5 separate regions of the Homo sapiens genome follow, and all the other regions are linked to region 2. The links are contacts of gene promoters, found by promoter capture Hi-C in blood cells and fetal thymus (Javierre and others, 2016). All regions are on one chromosome and are shown on one strand. Each heading gives the region's core, a stretch centred on a gene start or on the middle of the fragment in contact. The rest is flanking DNA. Distances are from core to core; before and after follow the strand shown. Region 1 overlaps C12orf56 (chromosome 12 open reading frame 56). Region 2 holds the start of RXYLT1-AS1 (RXYLT1 antisense RNA 1). Region 3 has its middle 37 kb from the start of KICS2. Region 4 has its middle 40 kb from the start of KICS2. Region 5 overlaps C12orf56 (chromosome 12 open reading frame 56).

Region 1 (3,299 bases), core at 715-3,214, 460 kb before region 2:
GGATACAGGTGTGTGCCACCACGCTCGGCTGATTTTTTTTATGTTTTTAGTTAAGACGGTTTCACCATGTTGGCCAGACTGGTCTCGAACTCCTGACCTCAGGCAATCCACCCGCCTCGGCCTCCCAAAGTGCTAGGATTATAGGCATGAGCCACCGCACCCGGGCTCTTTTTTCTTTTTTTGAGACAGAGTTTTGCTCTGTCGCCAGGGCTGGAGTGCAATGGTGCGATCTTGGCTGACTGTAATCTCCGCCCCCTGGGTTCAAGCAATTCTTGTGCCTCAGCCTCCTGAATAGCTGGGATTACAGGCATGCACCACCACACCCTGCTAATTTTGTATTTTTAGTAGAGACGGGGTTTCACCATGTTAGTCAGGCTGGTCTTGAACTCCTGTCCTCAGGTGATCCACCCCCCGTCGGCCTCCCAAAGTGCTGGGATTACAAGTATGAGCCACCGTGCCCAGCCAAAATTGTATTAGTTTTCTATTGCCATATAACAAATTATCACAAACTTAGTGGCTTAAAACAACATGTATTTCTTATCTCACAGTGTCAGTGGATCAGAAATCTGGGCACAGCTTAACTGGATCCTTTGCCCAGGGTCTCACGAGGTTTCAGTTGAGGTGTTGGCCAGGCCATAGTCTCATCTGAGGCTTGGGACTCTTCCTAGCTCATTTGGGTGATTGCTGGCAGACTAAATTTCCTTACAGCTGTGGGACTCAGGTGGCTTGTTTCTTTGCAGGAGAGTATCTCTTTTTCGGGGCTCACCTGATTAGAGCAAGCCTACTCTGGATAATCTTCTTTTGATTAACTCAACAGTCAGCCAATTAGGGCCTTTATTATATTCTCAGAATCCCTTCATCTTTCCCATTTCATGTAACATAATCACAAGAGTGACAGACAAACATATTCAGAGCTATTGCCCATACTTAAGGGGAAGGAATTTGATAGGGTTTGTACCAGCAGGCTGGGAATTTTGGAAGCCACGTTAGATTTCTGCCCACCACAATAACATGGACTGACTTAGGAGACTATCGATGTGGCCTTCAAAGTCTGTATTTTTAAAGATATTGTAGTACATTCAAAATTCATACATTAGAAATAATAACAACCTAAACAATAAAGTATTAAACTGTTGGGACTGTTTTTAAGGCTGTGATGTCAATCCTCTAAGTTATCTCTATTTTCAGGATGAAACTACCATTTTGATTAAAATTTCTTCTATCTATTATTGTCCTAGTGGATTTTAAATTGAATTAGCAGAAGGGGTGGATTTCAAATTAAATTCCATTTGGGTAAATAAAAAAGCGGTTAATCATTTCAGCATTTTCCTCTTTATTGTTTTCATGAGTGGAGATTTCATTAGTTCAACATACTTTGCTGTAACTTTCTTGAAATGTGCCATATTTTTTCATATCCTAGTATTGTTAGGGTTGAATTCATATGTTATCATAGCAAGTGACCCATAATTTGAGAGTTCTTTTTCTTTGCTTTGGATGTATGATACTTTGAAAATAAGCTGTTACTGAAAATAAAGGACTATAATTAAATATAACAGTGAATGGAATGCCAGTTCAAACAATATCAAGAAACACTTCTAAAGGGAGTGTTCTGTTGATTTTAAAAGGGTCTTCTCAAAGTAAGATTGGCCATTTTAAATAGCCTGAATAAAACATTATTAAATACCCTGTAGGGTATATCCTGCTTTTGTGAGAAATGTACTAACTGACATGATTCTTCTTTCCAAATATAAGAACTAGACTTGCTTTTTGACTTGGAGAAAGGAAGAGCATTGTATTTTTACTAGAGTGTAGGTTAATCATGAGCTTCTAATCATGGTGATGATTTAAATGATTCTAAGAAGATTAGAAAGCCTCAGATCCTACTAAACAAGGGTATTTATACTCACCCTCCTTTTTTCCATTATGAAAGGAATGCTTATGGTTATGGAGAACTTTTGTATAGTACTATCTTTGAATTATTTTACTACTCCTACCCCTCAAATCTACTCTGACATTGTCTTCAATTAGGCAACTGAGTTTTTAGCAGTCTGCCTTCAGCTGCTTTTCAACCATACAGGGGTTATACTACCCAATAGGAGGAGATAGCGTTATTAACCCAGCTCATCAGGATGCACATGTAACATTTAAGTGAGTTATCAATGGACGGTACCCCACATTGGAAAGTAAAATAACTGAGGTTTTTTGGGATCAAATAAGCATTTTACAAAATGGTGGAGTTGGGTGTGGAGGCTCATGCCTGTCATCCAAGCACTTTGAGAGGCTGAGGTGGGCAGATTGCTTTAGGCCAGGGGTTCAAGTCCAGCCTGGGCAACAAAGCAAGACCCCATCTTTATGTTTAAAAATTTTTATATTTAAAAAAAAGAAATGCTGTACATTATTAACAGAAACCAAGAAAAGGAAGCAAACTTACTGTCCAGCAATGGGTGAATGGATAAAGAAAATGTGGTACATATACACAATGGAATATTATTCAGCCATAAAAATGAAGTCTTGTTATTTGTGACAACATGGATGAAACTGGAGGATATTAGGCTAAGTGAAATAAGCCAGGCACAGAAAGACAAATACGAGTTTGACTTTTGAGTTCATGCATGATCTCACTTATATATGGAATCTAAAAAAGCCAAACTCATAAAAACAGAGAGTGTAGAATGGTGGTTGTCAGAGGCTTAGGGGCGGGGTGGAATTGGGAGATGTTGGTCAAAGGGTACAAAACTTCAGTTAGACAGGAGGAAGAAGTTCCAGAGATCAATCATACAAATATGGTGACCATAGTTAATAGCAATGTCCTGTATACTTGAAAATTGCTGACAATAGATTTTGTGTTCTCACTATATAAAAATAAGCATGTGAGGTGATGCATACGTCAATTCGCTTGATTTATAAAATATGTACACATTCTACAGTATATACATATTTCAAAACATCATGTTGTATACCATAAATATATACAATTTTTATTATCAATTAAAAAAAGTAAAAACTGAAAGTGGTCGCTCAAGCCTGTAATCTCAGCTACTTGGCTGAGGCAGGGGATCACTTGAGTCCAGTAGTTCAAGACCAGCCCGGGCAACATCATGAGATCCTGTGCCAAAAATAACCCAAGCAAACAAACCTAAAAAAAGAAAAAAGAAGAGCTGCATACTGTTGCTTTGTCCCAGAGATACACTGTGCATATTAGCATATAAAGCCTCTGAGAAGTCCTGTAGTAAACACATCTGATGAACTTGGTTTAACCAAGTATTTCCCCTATCTCCTTTGACCACAGAATCTATTTT
Region 2 (3,814 bases), core at 136-2,635:
AACTCCCGCAGCATAGTTATAATGTGGAGTGGCAGCAGCAGCAGCTGCAGGACGTGGACCCATTGTCTGTGTCGATGTGTTAGCAACACGCTGTGTTGACATAACTCATGGAACCTGTGAAGAAGCTGGTCTCATAGTACTAAATGGTGGTCTAGGAGCAGCCGGGCGGATAGCACTGGGCCTATTTTGGAATGGATGGGGTCTGGCACCCTCAGCAGTCCAGCGAGGACTTGGTCTTAGTTGAGCAATTTGGCTAGGAGGATAGTATGCAGCACCGTTCTGAGTCTGTGGGATAGCTGCCATGAAGTAACCTGAAGGAGGTGCTGGCTGGTAGGGGTTGATTTCAAGATTGGGCACAGCTCGTACACTTGCCATTCTTTGCATATACTGGTTAGTGAGGTGAGCCTGGCACTCTTCTTTGCGCTGAGCTAAAGCAACATACAATGGCTTTGTGGCCACAATTCTACCATTCATTTCTGTAACTGCTTTAGTGGCTTCTTCTGGTGAGGAGAAACATACAAAACCAAACCCTTTGCAGCGACCACCCTCCATCATAACCTTTGCACTGGTGATTGTACCAAATGGAGAAAACTCTTTCCGGAGACGTTAATTATTAATGCCATCATCAAGATTTTTCACATAAAGATTAACACGGTGGTATCTGGTGATCCTATCTTGCCTCACCTGTTCAAATTTGCGCTTAAGTTCTGTCTGCCGTTCCACTTTTTTCTGAGCTCTACCTACATAAATTTGTTTTCCATTGAGCTCCTTTCATTTCATCCACAGCTTTCTGTGCATCTTCAAGCCTTTCAAAGCTTACAAATCCAAATCCTTTAGATTTTCCACTTTCACCAGTCATTACTTTCACATTTAAGGCAGGCCCAAACTTGCCAAAGAGATTCTTAAGGCGCTCATCATCCATGTCTTCTCCGAAATTCTTGATGTAAACATTGGTGAACTCTTTCACGTAGCTCCAAGTTCAGCTTCTCGTTCTTTATGAGACATAAATCGTCCAACAAATACTTTGCGATCATTTAGGAGCATTCCATTCATTTTTTCCATAGCTCTTTCAGCTGCTTCCTGTGTCTCAAAGTGTACAGATCCATAGCCCTTGGAATCATTTTCATCACAGCCCACCTTACATGAAAGGATGTTACCAAAAGCAGAAAAATGTATCATACAGTGCTTTATTATCAATGGATTTGTCCAGATTTTTAATGAATATGTAGCCCACTCCACTTTTGCGAAGTGATGGATCACGCTGAGACTACACGATGCGTACTGGCTTGCCCTTTATAACATCAAAATTCATAGTGTTCACAGCATGCTCCGCGTCCGCGGGCTACTGGAAGTTCACATACGCGTAGCCCAAGGAGCCGTGGGTGATCATGTCCCTGCAGACCCGGATGGAGAGGATGAGCCCGGCCGCGCTGAACTTCTTGTAGAGCATCGCCTCGGTCACGTCGGGATGGAGGTCCCCCACGTACAGCGAGGACGTAGCTGGGGGCACTGGGGTTCATCTCGGCACTGCTGCTCGCAGGGCCACAGGCCGCGACCTTTCCGTGAGAGGAGGAGAGCGAATGCTGGGGCTAGGGGCCGGAGCTGGGGGAAGGTGAGCGGGGGCAAGCGCAAGCGCAAGCGCAGAGGGACAAAAATCACCCGGAATCGAAAACTACTTCACCGCCCCAGAATGGTGTTGATCCGCTGCCGCTGGCTGCGGGCGAAGGTGGAGGTGTCAGTCCGGACAGCGGGAAGGCCTCGGTCTCTTGGTTCCTTTTTGGAGCTGCTGCGGGCGGGCGAGTCGGCCTCGGCTGCTTCACGGGGTTACTTTATAAAAGAAGAAGAAGAAAAAAATAAAAGTCTATGGCAGGGGAGAGGCGGATTTTTTGTAAATTGTGGGAAAGTTTTTAAAATATTTTTTTAGATTTTTTTTTAATAATAAATGTATGTTCCGAGCCTGGAGCACACACTCCGCACTCTGAGCACTAACTGCCGGGAGAAGGGGCTAATTTTTGTATTTTCAGTAGAAACGGGGTTTCACCATGTTGGCCAGGCTGGTATGGAACTCCTGACCTCAGGTAATCTGTCCGCCTAGCCCTCCCAAAGTGCTGGGATTACAGGCGTGAGCCACCACGCCCGGCCAGTTTTTCTTTTTTTCTGATGTAGGCACTTGTAGCTATAAAATTCCCTCTTAGTACTGCTTTTGCTGTATCCCATAGGTTTTGGTATGTTGTGTTTCCATTATCATTTGATTCAATAAATATTTCAATTTCCTTTTTAATTACTTCATTGATCCACTGGTCGTTCAGGAGTATATTGTTTAATTTCCATATGTTTGCATAGTTTCCAAAATTCCTCTTGTTATTAATTTCTAGTTTTGTTTCATTGTGGTCAGAGAAAATGCTTGATATTATTTCAGGGTTTTTTTTAGACTGAGTCTCCCTCTGTCACCCGGGCTGGAGTGCAGTGGCGTGATCTCAACTCATTGCAACCTCTGCCTCCTGGGTTCGAGTGACTCCCTTGCCTCAGCCTCCCGAGTAGCGGGGACTACAGGTGTGTTCCACCATGCCTGGCTAGTTTTTGCATTTTTAGTAGAGATGGGGTTTCACTATGTTGGCCAGGCTGGTCTCAAACTCCTGACCTTGTGATCTGCCTGCCTCGGCCTCCCAAAGTGTTGGGTTACAGGCATGAGCCACTGCACCCGGCCCAGTTTTTTTTTTTTTTTTTTTAATGTTTTAAGACTTATTTTGTGACCTAATAGATGGTCTATTCTTGAGAATAATCTATGTGCTGAGGAAAATAATGTGTGTTCTGCAGCCATTGGATGAAATGTTCCATAAATATCTATTAGATCCGTTTGTTTTATAATGCAGATTAGGTCCAATTCATTAATTTTCTATCTGGAAGATCTGTCCAGTGCTGAAAGTGGGGTGTTGAAGTCTTCAGGTAGTATCATATTGGGAACTATCTCTCTCTTTAGCTCTAATAATATTTACTTTATATATCTGAGTGCTCCAGTGTTGGGCACATATACATTTAAAATTGTTATATCCTCTTGCTGAACTGACCCCTTTATCCTTACATAGTGACCTTCTTTGTCTCTTCTTTAGATTTGTCTTGAAATCGATTTTGTCTAAGTATAGCTACTCCTGCTCTTTTTTGGTTTTTATTGGCAGGGAGTATCTTTCTATCCCTTTATTTTCAGTCTATGTGTGTCTTTGTAGGTGAAGTGTCTTTCTTGTAAGCAACAGATCAGTGGGTCTTATTTTTTTATCCATTTAGCTACTCTATGTCTTTTGATTGGAGAGGTTAGTCCATTGAAGAATTTACATTCAATGTTATTATTGATAAGTAAGAACTTACTTTTGCAATTTTGTTAATTGTTTTCTGGCTGTTTTGTGGTCTTCTTTCTTTCTTTTCTTCCTGTTTTCCCTTAGTAAATATTATTTTCTCTGGTGATATGATTTAGTTCCTTGCTTTTTGTTTTTTGTGTATTCATGGCATGTTTTTTTCATTTGAGATTACCATGCGGCTTGCAAACGCTATCTTATAACCCATTATTTTAAGCTGATAAAAACTTATCACTGTTTGTATAAACAAACAAGCAAAAAGAAACCTAATAAAAAGTTTACACTCTAACTTCATCCCCCCTTTTTAATTTTTTGTTGTTTCTATTTATATCTTATTGTACTGTTCATGTCTTAAAAAGTTGTCATAGTTATTATTTTTGATTGATTCATCATTTAATCTTTCTGCTTATGACAAGAGTAGTTTACATACCACAGTTACAGTGTTATCATAGTCTGTGTTTCTC
Region 3 (3,339 bases), core at 726-3,225, 360 kb before region 2:
GGAGGATGGCGCTTGACATTGATCTAGGAAAGGAAGACAGTCATTGGGACTTTTGCTAACTTTGTCCCTAGAGAGTGAATTCTGCTTTTGCTGGTCCTAAAAACTGTAGAGTAATTCTACAATCCAGTTAAATTTGTAAATCTAATGCCTGATTCAGTCTGAGATTTATGACTCAGCCGGTTGATCCAGCTTAGGTCTAGACTCATTTCACTTTTGTTATGACAAGATACGACAATGTAGGGCACACCCTTTACCCCCCAGGGTCATCCTGATGTCAGTCATTTCAGGCTAGGCCAGTGTCAGAGCAGTCCCTGAAGCAGAAGTGGATGGAAAGAGGTGAATGATTTCTAATATTCAACATTCATTAATTTAACATCAACTATGTTAAGGGTAATGATATAGCAGTTAACCAAGACCAACATGGTGTCTGCTTGGTTGATGCTTGAAATAAGGTGACCTGGCCCCAGCCACCCGGGTGGCCAGGAGCTGAAAGGGCTGTAACAAGTAGGCAGTGAATAGTCTTCAAACTTGTTACTTGCATACCTCCCTACAAATTTTGGAAAAACCATGAGACTCTGATTGATTTTTTAAAAGAATATCTAAAATCATTATGTTTAAATAGCCTCAAAAGAAGCATTTTATTATGTATTGTAAATATTGGCATTTTAAAATGTTATTCGGTCTTTTAAATGTATCCAGTGAAATGTTGGTACAATAGAGTTTTGATAGCTACCATTTTCCATTTTTAAAAATACTTTAACACGCTTTGTAACAGTTGGAAATATTGTTTGATTCCTTTTGCTCCCTGAACTCCATTCTTCTTCTTCTGAAGAATTTTATCCTAAAATGAATTTATTTTTTGCTTAACAGTCTTATTGGTTACCTTATTAAATATTACTCAGTATATTATAGATGTAAGTGTTTTTTGTGTTACCATAGGCTCTAAGAGTTTAATGACCAAATGACATTTTAATAAATATTAAACTTAAAAAATTACATTTGGCTGGGTGCGGTGGCTCACGCCTGTAATCCCAGCACTTTGAGAGGCCGAGGTGGTGGATCACTTGAGGTCAGGAGTTCAAGACCAGCCTGGCCAACATGGTAAAACCGGTCTCTACTAAAAATACAAAAAATTACCCGGGCATGGTGGTGGGCGCATGTAATCCCAGCTACTCGAGAGGCTAAGGAAGGAGAATCGCTTGAACCTGGGAGGCAGAGGTTGCAGTGAGATGAGATCACACTCCTGCACTCCAGCCTGGGTGACAGAGCGAGACTCTGTCTCAAAAGACAAAAAAAAAAAAAGTTATATTTAATTTGAAATACATTGAAATTTGAATAGGTATAATATTACAGTGATTTGGTTAAAGAAATTGTCTAAATGTTCTTTTGTTTGTTGGACAGATATTTTTACACCCTATGATAATAATACCCCATGTTAAAAACTGGGAAGGATTTGCAATTTTACCGTATTTGCTAGCTAACAACTTTCCCTGACATAGTTTCACAGATGTGGACAGAAGACACAAGACAGTTATTCTAGTAATAGCAGGGGCTGGATAACATCATTTTTGCATTTTTGATTTCTTAAGCTTCAGTTCTATCAGGGCCAATGTGGATGGGCCCAGATGGATGCCTGCTCACATGCATGTGAGAATTCTGATCTTTGGAAACCCAATTTTTTTTTTTTTTGAGACAGAGTCTCACTCTGTCGCCCAGGCTGGAGTGCAGTGGCGTGATCTCGGCTCACTGCAAGCTCCGCCTCCCGGGTTCATGCCATTCTCCTGCCTCAGCCTCACGAGTAGCTGGGACTACAGGTGCCTGCCACCATGCTCGGCTAATTTTTTTGTATTTTTAGTAGAGACGGGGTTTCACCGTGTTAGCCAGGATGGTCTTGATATCCTGACCTCGTGATCCGCCCGCCTCGGCCTCCCAAAGTGCTAGAATTACAGGTGTGAGCCACCGTGCCCGTCCCCCAATCTTTTATAATGGTTTGTAAGCATGCCTTCCCTTTGCTCCAGAGGGAGACATTCCTATTCCAGCCAGTAAGTGTGTTGGTTTCCTAGAGCTCCCATAACAAAATACCAAAAATTGGATGGTTTAAAGCAACAGAAATGTATTGTCTCTCAGTTCTGCAGGCTAGAAGTCTGACATGGTGATGGCAGAGCCATCTTCCCACTGAAACCTGTAGAGATAGTGCAGAACTAAGGGCAGTTGATGCCTTACTCTCAAGACCTGCAGAACATGAAAAAACCCATGGAAAATGGTCTCCTAATACGCTATGGTAAACGTATGGGTGAGAGGTAAGTTTATTTTTTGGTAAGAGAAAGGCAGTTATTAAAGGAGAAGGTAGAAAAAGCTTAGTTTACTAAAAGCACTTTCACAGGTTCTTAGGAGAGAGTTCATATGGAAGTTGAGGAATCTGAAATTGATTTCCTAAAAATTGATTTTCTTAAAATGATCTCTATTCTCATATCTTTTGAATAATATTTCCATATCTCAGTAGAATCCCAGCTTGAAGGGACATGAGGTACATCTGAACTGCTGTTCTCTGGGAATCACCACATACAGTACAGCTTTGAGATATTGATGCCATAATGCCCCCTTCTATTTTCCTGAACTTTCCAAGAAGTTTTTGCTAAAAGTTGTGGATGGGCTGAGCAATGTGATCAAAGAATTAAAAGAGGGTTTTCTGCCTTCTTTTAGGGGAGGGCAGCAGTAGCAGGAGGAAGGTTGAGTCCAGGAATTGCCAAAGGTGGTATGCCACAGAGCCCCTGTCAGCCTGTGTACAGGGAATGTGGTCAGGAGGCAGATGAGTGGCGGAGGCAGCAGACAACTGGATTGGAGTCCTGATTTCCAGAAATAGTAAGCAGAGGAATTTGTCAAGAGCCTGGAATTCCTGTAATTAAGCAGAATGGGGAGTTGACATTTTCCTAATGGATATTAGCAAATAAATGTGACCTCATTTTAAGCTCCCATTGGCCAAGGCCTGGACATTCCAGTTAAAGTTTTTGACCAAATTATATACGGCTAAGTTGATGTGGAATCATTCAGTTCCACAGTAAACCATTTATACAGACAAAGTGACTTATTTGCATATTTTTTCCTACTATGTTTTTTAATAACAAGGCCAGTTTTTGTGAATGTAACTATCTAGTCTAGCAAGTATAGTTGTCCTTGGAAAGCTTGAGAAAGTGCTTCTTATAGTATTTATTAAATGTCATTTTTAGTTTGAAAACCAACACAGATCTCCAGGAGCAATAATGTTTTATGTTATTAAAGTTGAGCCCCTATAGTCTTGCTTGATTTTAAAAGGATGGATGAATGACATTGAGGAGAGGA
Region 4 (3,478 bases), core at 596-3,095, 440 kb before region 2:
TTTGAAAGTATAGGTAGGTCGGGCACTGTGGCTCACGCCTGTAATCCTAGCACTTTGGGAGGCCAAGGTGAGTGGATCATGAGGTCAGGATTTCGAGACCAGCCTTGCCAGCATGGTGAAATCCCGTCTCTACTAAAAATACAAAAATTAGCCGGGTGTGTTGGCACGCGCCTGTAGTCCCAGCTACTCAGGAGGCTGAGGCAGGAGAATCGCTTGAACCCCGGAGGCGGAGGTTGCAGTGAGCCGAGATTGCACCACTGCACTCCAGCCTGGGTGACCGAGCAAGATTCTGTCTCAAAAAATAAATAAATAAATAAATAAATAAATAAATAAATAAATAAATAAAAAATATATGTAAATAGGCTGTGCACGGTAGCTCATGCCTGCAATCCCAACACTTTGGGAGGCCAAGGTAGGTGGATTGCCCGAGCAACGGAGTTCAAGACCACGAACATGGTGGTAACATGGTGAAACCCTGTCTCTAGTAAAATAAAAAATTAGCTGGGCGTGGTGGCGCACACCTGTAGTCCCAGCTAATCGGGGTAGGCTGAGGCACGAGACTCACTTGAACCCGGGAGGCGGAGGTTGCAGTGAGCCGAGATCGCACCACTGCACTCCAGCTTGGGTTACAGAGTGAGACTCCATCTCAAAAAATAAATAAAAATATAAAAATTAAAAAATTAAAAATATATATGTAAATAATATATAGAGATTATATGTAATTATATATAATTATAATTTTAAAATTTCATCTATATATAATGCGGGTAAGAACACTGGTTTTGGAGCCGAAATGGTTTAAATTCCAGTTCTGCACTTGTTTTGGACCTTAGGAAGTTACAAATATTTGTAAGCTGCAGTTAAAGCAAAGATAATATAACCTACTGCAAAGGGTGTTAGGAGATTTAAATGAAAACATAAATGCTTTAGCACACAGCACGGTATCTGACATGCAGTAAAGACTTGGGGTATATATTGTTAAAGTTAACAAAGCTGGGTGAGAATTTAGAGACTAATAAATATTGCCTTATTTTTTTAACCAATCTGAGGACCAGCCGCTGTACTCATAGAACCCCTGGTCTATAGAGCATTGGAGAACAGATTCATTTGAATTTTTTTTTTTTTTTTTGAGACTGAGTTTCACTCTACTTGCCCAGGCTGGAGTGCAATGGCACAACCTTGGCTAACTGCAACCTCTGCCTCCCGGGTTCAAGCGATTCTGCTGCCTCATCCTCCCAAGTAGCTGGGATTACAGGCTCCCACCACCACGCCTGGCAATTTTTTTGTATTTTTAGTAGAGACGGGTTTCACCATGTTGGCCAGGCTGGTCTCGAACTTCTGACCTCAGGTGATCCACCGGCCTCAGCCTCCCAAAGTGCTGGGATTACAAGCGTGAGCCACCATGCCCGGCCTGACAAGTGACTATTTTCACTGCTTACCACCAGGAAAGAGTGTTGGCTCTAATTAGCGCCATCAATGGAAGATCTACGTGGAAAACACTCTTTCCAAGGGTGGACAGAAAGCTTTTTAGTTCCTAAACTTTTTTCAGCCTTTGACTTGAACGGGTAATTGCTAAGTGACCAAATTGAAATAGCCATTCTTTACTTACAGAGTTCCAAATGGATTTACAGGTAGTGTTAGAGGAGATACATGAAGTATTCCTTTTCTTTTTTTTTTTTTTTTTGAGTTTCACTCTTGCCCCCCAGGCTGGAGTGCAATGGCACGATCTTGGCTCACTGCAGCCCCACCTCCTGGGCTCAAGCAATTCTCCTGCCTCAGCATCCCGAGTAGTTGGGATTACAGGCATGTGCCACCACACCCAGCTAATTTTGTATTTTTAGTAGAGACGGTTTCACTATGTTGGCCAGGCTGGTCTCGAACTCCTGACGTCAAGTGATCTGCCCGCCTCGGCCTTCCAAAGTGCTAGGATTACAGGGATGAGCCACTGTGCCCAGCCAAATTTCTTGAGTTTTACTGAAATTTAGATACTCTAGCTACTGTGCAAAGAGGGAAAAGCCTGAAGTTCCTATAACTGATAGCATGTTTTACATAATTTCATATTGAATCTCACTCACTGGCGGTACCACTTTTAATTTTGCATGAAGATGCTTGAGAGTACATTAATAAATGTTCTATAAGGCAGCTGATAAGCATAGTGAAAGCTTTTTGGCTGCTAAGCTTCAACCTGTGCCATTATATTTTTTCTGAGGCTACAACCATTTGTTTTATATTTCACATATTTGCATATTAGAGAGGTTCAGTGATAAATATGGAAGAGAAGCTGAAAATTCTTGACGAGATAAATTTGATTTTTTTTTTCTTGAGATGGGGTCTTGCTATATTGGCCAGGCTGTAGTGCAACGGCTACTCACAGGTGAGATCACAGCACACCACAGCCTCAAACTCCTGGGCTCAGGCAATCCTCCTGCCTCAGCCTCTCGAGTAGCTGAGACTGCAGGTACATGCCAGCATGCCAGGTTCATGGTGGGAATTTTTGAACAACTCTTAATAGTGTTAAATTACTGTCTGATTGCTCTTTGTTCATTGGATTTGCTTCTAAAATGCAGTACAGGCCGGGCGTGGTGGCTCACACCTGTAATCCCAACACTTTGGGAGGCCGAGGTGGGCAGATCACTTGAGGTCAGGAGTTCGGGCCCAGCCTGGCCAGTATGGTGAAGCCCTGTCTCTACTAAAAATACACAAATTAGCTGGGCATGGTGGCAGGTGCCTGTAATCCCAGCTACTCGGGAGGCTGAGGCAGGAGAATCACTTGAACCCAGGAGGCAGAGGTTGCAGGGAGCCGAGATTGCACAACTGCACTCCAGCCTGGGCAACAGAGCAAGACTCTGTCTCAAAAAATAAATAAAAAATAAAATAAAATAAAATAAATGCAGTGCAGGCTTGTAAGGTCAACTTGAATTTGGGTATCTATAGTGGGGAGACAGCCATTCTCCATGCCGTCAGACCAAGCACTTCTCTGTATTTCTGTGCCTTGTGGATCTGAAGCTTTTGTCATTTTGGGGAAGGCAACATGATTCCTTGGCTAGAAATCTGGGTAGTGTAACTTTTGGGATAAGATGCTATGTCAGACCTTGTTCTTACTTGTCATCAGACTTTTGGCAGGTTATTTTAAATCTTCCAGAACCTTTATTTTGTAAACTATGAGATAGTAAGAAGCCTACCTTAAGGGTTTTTGTGAATATGTGAATATTAATTAATTTGTATATAAACATCTAATTCTATGGTTACTATATATTAGGATGACCCATATAGCATTGCCATTTTCAAGTCCGAAAATGTTGGGATCTGCAATTCCATATGGTTCAAACAAACAGCAAGCCCTCAATAAATGGTAGCTATTATCTTAACAGAAATACTCACTTGCTTAGTGACCTTGTACTTTAAATATACAGTATATGGTTTATTCTCATTTCCCAAGTAGTTTGACACTTTGTTATAGCATGGCTTATTCTTGCAC
Region 5 (3,795 bases), core at 1,077-3,576, 480 kb before region 2:
TTTTAGTAGGCTGGGGTTATCAGGAAAGGGCTGTGTATTAGTCCATTCTCACACTGCTGTAAAAATGCTACCTGAGACTGGGTAATTTATAAAGAAAGAAGGTTTAGTTGACTTGTTCCTGGACCAAACCAAGGGTCGGGCTGCTTATTCTTTGGCCCAATAACGAGATACAGATGAACTGGGAAAGAAGGGAAAGGCCTGGAAATTATCGCCAGACCAATTCAAAATTACAAAGTTTTCCAGAGCTTATATACCTTCTAAGCTATATGTCTACATGTAAATGCATTCATCTAAAGACGTAAGTGATTAACTTCTTTTAATCTATAACTAAGATTAGATCAGGACCTAAGGAAGGTCCTGAAAACCTTCTTCTGGGGCCTCAGTAAATTTACTCAATCTAAATGGGTCCAGGTCCTGGGGTGATTACCCTTATCTTGCCTCCTGCTAAATCACGGAGGTTTGGGGAGTTCCTTCAGACTGCCAATAAACTTGTTTGTGGCGGCCTGAGGAGTTTCTTCAGACCCCCAGTAAAACTTGTTTAATTCTAAACAGGTCCTGTTAAGAATTCCTTCATTATCTTGTCATGCTTCAAGGCCCAGGAAAGGCCTAGGCAAAACTCTTGGTGGGTTTTTGTTACATCCCAGCCTTTGTGAAAGGACACTGGCTCTATCAGCTTTTAATATTTAACATAACCACTCAGTCAGTACCGGAACAGTTGTTATGGAGGCCTGTCTGTTCAGCTGTTATGAAGACCTGGCCTGCCACAGACTTACAGTTCCACATGGCTGGGAGGCCTCAGGAAACTTACAATCATGACAGAAGGCGAAGGGGAAGCAAGGCATGTCTTACATGGCAACAGGAGAGAGAGAGAGAATGTGCAGGGGAAACTGCCACTTTTAAACCATCAGATCTCATGAGGACTCCCTCACCATCGTGAAAACAGCATGCATGATCCAATCACCTCCCACCAGGACCCTCCCTCGACAGTGGGGATTACAATTCAAGATGAGATTTGGGTGGGAACACAGAACCAGAACATATCAGGCTACCATCTGGATAAGGTGGGCACTGGGAAAATGAATCCAGATGTAGATGCTCATGGAAAAGGCACAGTGCCCAAAGGTGAGAGTGATCTCTACATAAGAGTGAGCAAAATGAAATATCAGGATATTTTAGCATGTGGGTGAATTACAACTGGATGTCTGCACAAACATTTGGCACCAGGAAGATCTGCTTGTTTAGGGTGTGGGAACAGGGTTTTATGGAATGTGAGGACATAAAGATTGTCAAGAGTAAAGCCAGCAGTTAGGAGAGGACTGGGAAAGGACTTAGGACAGTGCTCAAAGGGGAAGTCCACCCAGATACACTGGACACAATCAGGGACTGGATTTAAAGTGCATGTCTAGGTAGGAGAACTGAAGTACCACTTAAGGGTTAGATTAAGAAGGATGTTGATGTGTATTCCTAATGGGATCAGCACCAGTGTTAGTCTGGAGGTCATTTAAGCATCTTCAGTTTAAAAACAGGCCTGATACCTGTGGCCTAGGCTGTGGAACAAAAAAAGAATGGAGAGAAAGAGAGTAAGGTTAGGATTCACAGACCTGACCCGCCACTTCATCTTCTCTCTCACCTCTGTCCTCTACAAGATCGAGCCATGTAGGATAACTTGGATACTTGTTCTCCTTAGCTCTCCTTTCTCCCTGCTGCTTGCTTTCTCTAGAATACTCTTCTTCTAATTTCTCTTGTTAAAAATCATACCCATTCATCAAGGCTCAGCTCAAATGCCATTTTCTGCCTTTCCTGTCATGCCTAATGGGGAACTTTAGTACCTTCCTCCTTTTGATCTTCTCTGTCAATTCCATGCCATAGAACTTTCTTTGAAGTTTTATAATCTGCATTGTTCAATACAGCAGACACTAGCCACATGTGGCTATTAAGCACTTGAATGTGACTAGTGACTAAAAAAGTAAAACGTTAATTTTATTAAATTTACATTAATTTAAATAGACACTTGTGGGCAGTAGCTACCGAGTTGAACAATGTAGTTCTATGACATCTTTCATAGCACTTCCTCTTTAACAATTAACAGACAGTTTTCATGCCTAATCTGTGTGAGGCTTGGTGATAGGTATTAGAAATATAGCATGATTATGATACAGTTTCTACCATCGAGAATTAGCACAGATATCCTCCCTTTTACTATAGTGATTGGCACATTTTTCTTATTTATCTTAATATGCTAAAAGCTTCTTTAGGACAAGTATATGTCTTACTTATCTTTGTATTCTCCCTCAGGCCAAAACACAATGCATGCATATTCCAGGTGCTGTAAGTTATTCATACTGAATTGCAAATCTGTTCTCTTGTGAAATATTAACCTAATCCAATGTCTAAAAATGAAGCTTTCATGATCTGTTTTATACTTGAAAACACTGCAGCCATTATTTAATATAATATTCTTACCTGGGCTAAAACAAATCTTCTAATTCAGTTATCAAAAATGAAAGGCCAAAGTGAATGGAGAAGGAAATAATTCAGATAGGAAAAGGGGAAGTCAAATTGTCTCTGTTCACAGATGACATGATTGTATATTTAGAAAACCTCACCGTCTCAGCCCAAATCTCCTTAAGCTTATCAAAGCAACTTCAGCAAAGTCTCAGGATACGAAATCAATGCACAAAAATCACAAGCATTCCTATACACCAATAACAGACAAACAGAGAGCCAAATCATGAGTGAACTCCCATTCACAATTGCTACTAAGAGAATAAAATACCTAGGAATACAACTTACAAGGAATGTGAAGGACCTCTTCAAGGAGAACTACAAACCACTGCTCAAGGAAATAAGGGAGGACACAAACAAATGGAAAAACATTTCATGCTCATGGATAGGAAGAATCAATATCGTGAAAATGGCCATAACTGCCCAAAGTAATTTATAGATTCAATGCTATCCCCATCAAGCTACCTATTGACTTTCTCCACAGAATTGGAAAGAACTGCTTTAAAGTTCATATGGAACCAAAAAAGAGCCCGCATAGCCAAGACAATCCTAAGCATAAAGAACAAAGCTGGAGGCATCACACTACCTGACTTCAAACTATACTACAAGGCTACAGTAACCAAAAGAGCATGGTACTGGTACCAAAACAGACATATAGACCAATGGAACAGAACAGAGCCCTCAGAAATAACACCACACATCTACAACCATCTGATCTTTGACAAACCTGACACAAACAAGCAATGGGGAAAGGATTCCCTATTTAATAAATGGTGCTGGGAAAACTGGCTAGCCATATGCAGAAAACTGAAACTGGACCCCTTCCTTACACCTTATACAAAAATTAACTCAAGGTGGATTAAAGACTTAAACATAAGACCTAAAACCATAAAAGTCCTAGAAGAAAACCTAGGCAATACCATTCAGGACACAGGCATGGGCAAAGACTTCATATCTAAAACATCAAAAGCAATGGCAACAAAAGCCAAAATTGACAAATGGGATCTAATTAAACTAAAGAGCTTCTGCACAGCAAAAGAAACTATCATCAGAGTGAACAGACAACCTACAGAACGAGAGAAAATTTTTGCAATCTATCCATCTGACAAAGGGCTAATATCCAGAATCTACAAAGGACGTAAACAAATTTACAAGCAAAAAACAACCCCATCAAAAAGTGGGCAAAGGATATGAACAGACACTTCTCAAAAGAAGACATTTATGCAGCCAACAAACATGAAAAAAAGCTCATCATCACTGGTCATTAGAGAAATGCAAATCAAAACCACA

The links. Contacts are between HindIII fragments. The CHiCAGO score rates a contact against its expected background, and 5 or more counts as called.
Region 1: a fragment that was not itself captured here is called in contact with the fragment with the promoter of RXYLT1-AS1 in region 2 in 4 of 17 cell types (M2 macrophages, monocytes, M1 macrophages and 1 more); the score reaches 9.2 in M2 macrophages.
Region 3: a fragment that was not itself captured here is called in contact with the fragment with the promoter of RXYLT1-AS1 in region 2 in 1 of 17 cell types (monocytes); the score reaches 5.2 in monocytes.
Region 4: a contact is called between a fragment that was not itself captured here and the fragment with the promoter of RXYLT1-AS1 in region 2, in 7 of 17 cell types (M2 macrophages, M0 macrophages, M1 macrophages and 4 more). The highest score is 11.7, in M2 macrophages.
Region 5: a contact is called between a fragment that was not itself captured here and the fragment with the promoter of RXYLT1-AS1 in region 2, in 2 of 17 cell types (M0 macrophages and M1 macrophages). The highest score is 6.9, in M0 macrophages.

Annotation. Positions count from the first base shown.
Region 1 is chr12:64,278,156-64,281,454 of GRCh38, reverse strand. The region is part of intron 8 of C12orf56 (chromosome 12 open reading frame 56); the gene reads left to right. Among named protein-coding and RNA genes, the nearest start is that of KICS2, 58 kb to the right of the region's middle. The HindIII fragment of the contact is 8,258 bases long and covers 1-3,299 here.
Region 2 is chr12:63,819,727-63,823,540 of GRCh38, reverse strand. RXYLT1-AS1 (RXYLT1 antisense RNA 1) reads left to right here and starts at 1,385. Exons shown (of 4, transcript NR_126167.1): 1 at 1,385-1,612. It also overlaps the pseudogene PABPC1P4. The HindIII fragment of the contact is 5,765 bases long and covers 818-3,814 here.
Region 3 is chr12:64,183,883-64,187,221 of GRCh38, reverse strand. It overlaps a transcript of KICS2 not described here. Among named protein-coding and RNA genes, the nearest start is that of KICS2, 37 kb to the left of the region's middle. The HindIII fragment of the contact is 767 bases long and covers 1,592-2,358 here.
Region 4 is chr12:64,260,947-64,264,424 of GRCh38, reverse strand. No RefSeq gene overlaps it. Among named protein-coding and RNA genes, the nearest start is that of KICS2, 40 kb to the right of the region's middle. The HindIII fragment of the contact is 639 bases long and covers 1,526-2,164 here.
Region 5 is chr12:64,298,104-64,301,898 of GRCh38, reverse strand. All of the region lies in intron 6 of C12orf56 (chromosome 12 open reading frame 56), which reads left to right. Among named protein-coding and RNA genes, the nearest start is that of KICS2, 78 kb to the right of the region's middle. The HindIII fragment of the contact is 156 bases long and covers 2,249-2,404 here.